Regions from separate parts of the Homo sapiens genome. Here region 2 is linked to region 1. Evidence: promoter capture Hi-C in 16 types of primary human blood cells and fetal thymus (Javierre and others, 2016). All regions are on one chromosome and are shown on one strand. The core of a region is centred on a gene start or on the middle of the fragment in contact, and the rest is flanking DNA. Distances in the headings are between cores, read along the strand shown.

What was found. The method cuts DNA at HindIII sites, captures the fragments that hold promoters and counts their contacts. A CHiCAGO score of 5 or more calls a contact.
Region 2: a fragment that was not itself captured here is called in contact with the fragment with the promoter of UTP25 in region 1 in 2 of 17 cell types (neutrophils and non-activated CD4 T cells); the score reaches 11.4 in neutrophils.

Annotation. Positions count from the first base shown.
Region 1 is chr1:209,825,486-209,829,747 of GRCh38, reverse strand. UTP25 (UTP25 small subunit processome component) reads right to left here and starts at 1,776. Exons shown (of 12, transcript NM_014388.7): 1 at 1,578-1,776. The coding sequence starts at 1,684. RefSeq lists an enhancer at 1,687-1,736. The HindIII fragment of the contact is 3,327 bases long and covers 1-2,857 here.
Region 2 is chr1:209,733,048-209,737,197 of GRCh38, reverse strand. HSD11B1 (hydroxysteroid 11-beta dehydrogenase 1) reads right to left here. Exons shown (of 6, transcript NM_005525.4): 6 at 2,269-2,894. The coding sequence ends at 2,677. All of the region lies in intron 1 of HSD11B1-AS1 (HSD11B1 antisense RNA 1), which reads left to right. Among named protein-coding and RNA genes, the nearest start is that of HSD11B1-AS1, 7.4 kb to the left of the region's middle. The HindIII fragment of the contact is 5,840 bases long and covers 1-4,150 here.

The sequences.
Region 1 (4,262 bases), core at 527-3,026:
TTAGGAGGCCAAGGTGGGAGAATCACTTGAGCCCAGGAGTTTGAGACCAACCTGGGTAACATACGGAGACCCTGTCTCTACAAAAAAATAAGAAAAATTAGCCCGGAGTTGTGTTGTGCACCTGTAGTCTCGGCTACTGGGAAGGCTGAGGCAGGAGGACCGCTTGAGCCCAGGAGGTGGTGGCTGCAGTGAGCCAGGATTGCAGCACTGGATTCCAACCTGGGCAACGAAGTGAGACCCTGCCTCAAAAAAAAGAAAAAAGAAAAGAAAAGAAAAAAAGAATGTCCCTAACTGATGACAAAGCAGCCCAAAGTAGTGGGATGAGCATTGAGATCATAACTGCACCTAGACATTTCTAGAGAAACCACAACTACTAATACACTTAGTTCCTTATCGTAATTGCAAAGATCAATGATGTCCCAACAAATTCTTTAAAAACACACACAACATATGATGTGACTATAACTAACAATTTATTGTATATTTTCAAATGGCTAGAAGAGCGGATTTTCAATGTTCCCAACGCAAAGAATTGATGTTTGAGATGATGAATATGCTAATTACCCGGATTTGATCATTACACATTGGGTACATGTATTGTTATCAAAATATCACACTGTATCCCACAAATATGTACAATCATTTTATGTAAGTTAAAAATAATTATAAAAACAGGCCAAGCGCGGTGGTTCACGCCTGTAATTCCAGCACTTTGGGAGGCCAAGGCGGGCAGATCACCCGAGGTCAGTAGTTCGAGACCACCCTAGCTAACATGGTGAAACCCCGTCTCAACTAAAAATACAAAAAATTGATCGGGTGTGATGGCGGGCGCCTGTAATCCCAGCTACACGGGAAGCTGAGGCAGGAGAATCGCTTAAGCCCGGGAGACGGAGGTTGCAGTGAGCTGAGATCGCGCCACTGCACTCCAGCCTGGGCGACAAAGCGAGACTCTGTCTTAAAAAAAAAAAATTATATATATACATATATATATGTGTGTCTACAAAAAATTCCTAGATCTCTGACCACACAAAAATCCGCCCCCATAGCTGGGCGCGGTGGCTCACGCCTGTAATCCCAGCACTTTGGGAGGCCGAGGTGGGTGGATCACCTGAGGTCAGGAGTTCAAGACCAGCCTGGCCAACATGGTGAAACCCCATCTCTACTAAAAATACAAAAAATCAGCCGGGCTTGGTGGCGGGCGCCTGTAATCCCAGCTACACGGGAGGCTGAGGCAGGAGCATCGCTTGAACCCGGGAGGAGACAGAGGTTGCAGTGAGCCAAGATCGCGCCATTGCACTCCAGCCTGGGCGACAGAGCGAAACACCGTCTTAAAAAAAAAAAAAAAATCCTCCCCCACACAACGGGCGTGCCTCTTAGCAGGAAATTACAGGCTCAACAAAAAGGCCCGTGAAGCACTCCATCTCCCGGCGGGATGGCGCCAGAATCTCCCCGGCCGAGCACAGCGGGAGCCAGGGAATAGTGGGAAAAGGCCGGAGCAGCACTATCTGGGAGACCAGAGGACCAAACTCGAGGATACATCTCTGGCGACTGGGGAGCCCTGCCACGCCCCTTCAGACCTGTCATAGAAGGGATGCTCCTCGCCGAAATCTCGAAGATGTTTCTTCTGCTTTTTAGTTAGGGTGTTGAGTAGCTGGCTCTGGCTCCGGCTCCCGCGTTTGCCCATAGCGAAAACGTCAAGTTTGCCCACTTGCAAGAGTCGCGGTTTTCCACCAGGAAGTTGTCCAGTCAACACAAGCACGTGGGCTCGCTGACTGCGCTTTACGGCGAAAGCAAGGTGCCATAAAGCAGATCCGCTTTACGTCGCGCTCGTACGACAGGCTTAGAACATCCGGTTCCCGGTTCTGCCCCCTACCGCAGCTCTTTGAAAGCACGGGAGTTCGTTCACTAGTGTTCTCAGAGCCCTAGAACGTGGGCAGCTGGGCTTCCCGGGTTGCGTGAGTCGGGGGCATGAGCTTTGTGCTTGTGTTTTGGTTATGGAAATCAGTCTGCGTAAATGTGTAGTAGCGGAGATAGTCGAATGCAGTGACTTTACAGTATACTGCAATAAAAATATCAACCAACATTTAAGGGTGCCTGAACATCTCACTTCATCACCACAACAGTGTACAGATAGGTCTTGTTAATAAGCCTGGTGTTGCAGATAAGGAAACTGATGCTTAGAAAAGATAACACGCTAGCGGCCGGGCGCGGTGGCTCACGCCTGTAATCTCAACACTTTGGGAGGCCGAGATGGGCGGATCACCTGAGGTCAGGAGTTCGAGACCAGCATGGCCAAACATGGTGAAACCCCGTCTCTACTAAAAGTACAAAAATCAGCCGGGCGTGGTAGCGGGCGCCTGTAATCCCAGCTACTCAGGAGGTGAGGCAGGAGAATCGCTGGAACCCGGGAGGTGGAGGTTGCAATGAGCCGAGATCACTCCACTGCACTCCAGCCTACTCCAGCCTGGGCGACAAAAGCTAGACTCCATCTCGAAAAAAAAAAAAAAGAAGAAAAGAAAAGAAAAGATAACACGCTAGCAAGAGAAGAGAGAAAAACCTTAACTGATGCAACCACATGCTTTTACCCATTAGGGTCTGCCGCCTGTGTGTGTTATATCAATCATGGGGCCCACAAGTCTGAGATTCCCACCCTCACCCTATTCTCGCATTTTCTGAAAGTATTGGAAGAGTCCCCGCAAACAAATCTGTTCCAGCATTCCCCATTTAACAACAGCAGAAACACATCTAGAGAGGTAAAGTGACTTTACTGAAATCACCCCAGTCAATGCTAGAAAAGGCTGTGAAACCCAATCCAGTGTCTCATAACTGAACTCGGACAAAAGGGGATGGAAAAGCTTTTGAAGGTAAAGGAACCATCTTACATTTTGATCATGCTAGTAGTTACACCTTGTATACATAAGAAAAGTTAAACTGTACAGTTAAAATGGGTGAATTTTAATGTATTTAAATAACACCTAAATAAACAGGAAAAAGCAAAAATATAAAAGTAGACTCAGTATTCTAGGGATTTGCAAGTGTGCAGGGCTGCTTGAGACCACAGGATAAAGATGGTGAGATCCTTTTCCTAATAGTAACTTATGCTACCATGTTCTATAGAAACAGAGTGCTTAAATCATAAGCCGCAGAATTCACTTGAATATTTACGGTAAAACAGGAGCGTCCAAAATGAGAGAAATGAGAAGCAAAATAATAGCTCTGCTATTGGAGTGCTACTGTGGGAAATTTGGGTTTTCCCTGATACTGTGTCACACCATAGAAGTTGTAATAAAACCATTAGAATGCGATTCTTGTCAGTTCTAGTGACCATCTACTATTCCTAATTAGATTCGGAGAGGCTGGGGTGGGGATGGGAGGACAGGGCCGGAGAATATGAGGAACACATGCAAACAGAGCGGGTGGTGCCCAGCAGCTGGGCCAGCCAAGGAACCCATAAATAGCCATTTGTCTTCTATGTAATTTCAAGATAAAAGGTACAGTCACTTAGGTCAACAAAAGCCTGTTTGCAAGATGTCATCATATATTTTAAGGTGCTGACCACAGTATAACTTGGCTATAGCAATAAAGAGCCATCCTTTTTCCCCCTCCCAACATATCCCAAGTGCCCCAGTTTCCCTCCCCAGAGGCAGCCACTTTCTTGGTGTTCTTCCAGAGATCTTCTATGAAAGCTATATTCTCAAGCACTTGAGGTGACTCTTACTCTCCCGGTTTCCACACCCTTGTGGTCTTGTGTACAGGTCTAGACGGTTCTCAGGTTCAGGTAAAAATTTACCCTAGCCCCACCCAAGCAGTCTCATCATTGGCTCACTGGGTCATGGAAAAAGAAGCCCTTTTTGTCCTAAAAATATTTATATTATCCTTTGACAACATAAAAAGGGATCCTTTGTGAAAATTTAACCTAAGAGCCAAGAATGTAAGCATTTCTCCCCGCCCCGCCCCCCCGTGAAAGTTCTCTTAGTAAAACCTGCACAACGATGATGTATATGCCAACAAATGAAGGCCTTAGGAAAACTGTAATGAAGACAAAATTTGTTCTTCTTTTTCCCTCCCTCTGCCCTTCCGTTTCCCTCCCCCAACGTTTTCTTTTACTTCTACTCACAGGAACTCCATATTTTCAGTGTTAAAGGCAGTCCAGGAAATAACCCTCTGTATTAGTTTACAGATAGCTGTTAATGAATTAACAAGTTACTTTCCTTGGGATATTTGCAATTTCCAGAAGATTCTCTAGGATAATGATCTCAAGG
Region 2 (4,150 bases), core at 828-3,327, 93 kb after region 1:
TCTTAGGAAGGACTTGTTGAATGTTGGCTCCCTAAAAAAGACCACCAAAACAACCTGTTGATAAGGCAAAGCTGGAGTCTTGATGGAGTCTTAGTAGACTCTGAGAGTGGAGAGGGTAAAGTCAGGGTCTTTATGGGGCTTTGAAGTCTAGGTTAAGGCGAGACTTCAGCATGGTGACTTTATTTGAATTGGATAAGGATTGTGATGCCATAGCTGGAGACTGGTGAACACAATGAAGCTGGGGTTTGGAACTAAGGGTTCCAAGCAGTCTTAAAGAGTAGCAGTCATTTGATGCTATCTGTTGAAAAATTCAGCACTTTTAAATGGGCTTGCAACATTTATCTTCTCGGACAAGAGTTTCTTGGAATAGTAAAGTCATGCTGATAAAGAGAATGGAATGTTAAAATCATGTTAATGAAGACAATAAGCTATGTGGGTGTAGATGGTTTCAGTTCTCAGACCTACTTTTTGAGATCTTCCCCTTTGGATTCTGAAGAAAGTCTCATTTAGAAAGAGGTTTAACCTCTCCCCAAGCAAATTCTAACTCAGCTTTAATATTATCTCTACCCTTGAGTAAAGGAATTACTTCACTTCATCTCACTGTGAAGAAGGAGTCTCATTTCTACAAGAGACTGAAGGGTGTTAATCTGATTGATCAGAAACCAGGACATATATTAAGCCACGTTGCAAGTGTGGGTGCATTTCATGTCAGAAACCAGACTACATTTTTTGGCCCTTTTTGTTTTGTCTTGTTTTTGCACATGGATGCAGCCAGGTCTCTCCTGCTCCCTTGCACTGAGCATAGCCTTGGAAGGACCTCTAAGAAAAGTGCAGCCACATTAGCAGGCTCAAATCCAGCCCTTTGTCCATGTGGCTGGCAGGCTCAATAGATTCCAATATGTTCTGCTGCCCAGCCATTTAGATTCAGAGGTGGGAAAAGAAAATTTCCCCTGCACTTTTAGGCACATGTCTCATGTCCCAGCATTACTTACCATGGAAGCTGTATGTTTGGGAGTGTTGGGGTTCCTGATGGATATACTCCATTCATTTCTCCAGAACACTCTCTACCCTTTTCCATCTGCTCTGTACATGGGGAAGCTGACCTGTATGGTCTATACCTATCTGCTCCCTTGCCCCTCTGTTCAGCTAATGTGAAATGCTGGCCAGAGATCAGAGGGAGGGAAGAGCGTGAGGTGAGGCTAGGGTGTTTTTTCCCCTAGACACCTCCTTCACAATCCTTGGTAGGCTAGCTGCATCTCTTTTTTTTTGAAATGGAGTCTCGCTCTGGCGCCAGGCTGGAGTGCAGTGGCACAGTCTCAGCTCACTGCAACCTCTGCCTCCCAGGTTCAAGCAATTATCCTGCCTCAGCTTCCCAAGTAGCTGGGACTACAGGTGTGCACCACCACACCTAGCTAATTTTTGCATTTTTAGTAGAGACGGGGTTCCCCCATGTTGGTCAGGATGGTCTGAATCTCTTGACCTCGTGATCCACCCACCTCAGCTTCCCAAAGTGCTAGGATTACAGGCGTGAGCCACAGCGCCTGGCTGGTTGGCTGCATCTCTTAACTAAATGTTACAGCTCCTGCCATGTGGTGCTCTCCATACAGGTCTTCACATCTTGAGGTTTTGGTAACAGGTCTCTTCTCTTGTCCCTGTGGGCCTTACGATGGAAACAGCTGCAACTAACCCTGAGATATCACTATCTTTTGTGATTTCCCTGTGCCTTGCCCCTTTTTTTATTAAATGCTACTAAAATTACCCAATTTGAGGGTGTCATCTCTTACTTCTTGGGCCCTGATCAATATAGGGCTTTGCTGAGTTGTTCATCATGCTGATGTTTTGTTTCCCATTTAATCATAGTTAGGTGATGCCTAATAAGTGCTTACTAAATATTTGTTGAATGAGTAAATGTCTAAATGAGTGAGTGGCAGGATTTGAACTCCAACTCCCCCTCTCCAAACTTCCAATGCAGAGTTTAGTGTTCACATGTAAAGTACAGATGCTTGATGTCCTCTGAGAGCAGTAAATGGGCATTGGGTCTGTGGCTCAAGTTTCTGGGACCTCCATTTTCCTGGGTTTGCCCTAGTTCCTTATGCCTAGGTGTCTTCTTTCCCAGAGGAGCAATATGCAATAATATGAAGAATATCAGAAATACACAGAAAAGGTAAAGACACAATATTCCCCACCAAACAAAGATTAGGGTGATTTCTTCCACTCAGGAAGAGATAAAGAGTTCAGACCACAAAATAAGAAACAAATATTGAAAAATTTCATTTGTACAGTTTATGGTTTTAAAGAAACCATCCTGAATAAGCTCAAGTTATAGCTACCAGTTATGAATTTATAAAGTTTATGTGACCTTTATTATAATTAATATTGTATTAATCATCACATATTATTATATATAAGATATAAATTTAATATAACTATCTGGTAATTATACCTATGTTTACTAACAATTTTACAACTGCTGGCTGCAGCGGTGCATGACATTCATTATTATTACATTTCCATTTTGCAAATGTTAGAGGAACTCCTTCCATTTGTCAGGTGTGACCCATGACTTGCATGTCTCTGGGGACACTCTGGGAAGATGTCTTCATAGATAAGAGCTCAGATAAACATGAGACAGAACAGTCCCAAAATCCCTCAGCATGCCCAGCCCTCAGGGAGTTCCTACTTGTTTATGAATCTGTCCATATTATAGCTCGTTGAGTAGAGAAATTCCAGGATCTTCCTGCATGGATTTCTGATCAGAAGAGTGGTCCAGAGTGAGCTGTCATAATACACTTCTTCTTGGCGCAGAGCTCCCCCTTTGATGATCTCCAGGGCACATTCCTCCTTTGGAGCTGCTTGCATATGGACTATCCCAGAAACTGCCTTCATGGCTGTTTCTATAGAATGACAAGGGAAGAGTAGGGTTATCTGACTAGGACAGTCTACATGATGGAAGGCCTGGAGACATCAACCACTTAGCTGTCAGGGGCTTTTGGCAGTGTTTGCTCTGCAAGCCTCACAGGCACTATAGGGAATACATGGAGAGACTGGGTATGTTAGAGTCTGTTGGGCAAAGAGAGGCCTTAGTGTTAATAGGGGCCTTGCCTTCCTGGATGGAGATTGGTGGGAGCAGTTAGAGGTGATTACTTGGGAGATCTGAATCATGCTTCTCTCTTGGGTATTTTGGTTGGAGGCGGAGAAGTAATATGGGGGAGCAGAATGAGGATAGAAGTCTCATAATGACTCAGTAGCTAATGGGAAGTGCCAGTGGGAAAAACCAGAGTGCTGTATGATAATGACTTACTGTCTTGTAAAAGGAAGAGATACACAAGAATACAGGCTTTTGCTCCCTTGTCACCACTTTCACTTCTCTCCCCTTCCAAGTTTTCATGTCCATCTTGCACAACTTCTCTCTCTCTCTCCATTCCTTTCTTGTTTCCCCCTGGGTCTCGGTCTCTCTCTCTATTTCTCTAACTGTTGCTCAATTACTCTTCAAAGAGCATTTTCTTTTAATATCTGCCACATGTTTTAGATAAACTTGTATTTGGACTTAACAGAAAAGTTGTAAAAATTGTAGGCCGTACCCCCTTATATTCCACACCTGCTCCCCCTGGTTGCAACACCATATATAACCATTGTGCAATGATTTAGGACAGGTATAATAATAGAATTGATACAATATATTAACTAAACTACAGACCTTATTTTTTCACTAATGTTCTTTTTATGTTCCTGGATCTTATCCAGGATTCCACTTAGTAGTAATTTCTTCCCATTTTTCTTCCAATCTGTGACAGTTCTTCAGCCTTTCCTTGTCTCTGATGGCCTTGACACTTTTGAAGAATACTGACCAAATGTTTTATAAAATGTTCCTTGATTTGGTTTTGTTCATTGTTCTCTTATGATTGGAGTGGGGTCATGTATTTTGGCAAGAACACCACCAAAATGATGTTGTGTTCTTCTCAGAACATCACATCAAAGAGTTCATGATACCAGTGTGTCTTATTACTGGTGCTGCTTTTAAGAAACACAAACTTGTATTTTGATAAGTCTCATATAGAAACGTAATGGCCATTGAGTGTCCATGAGGACATAAGGTGTTCAGCAAAGGGTTAAGTGATGAATGTGGTGAGACTCAGCCACCTTGGTAATC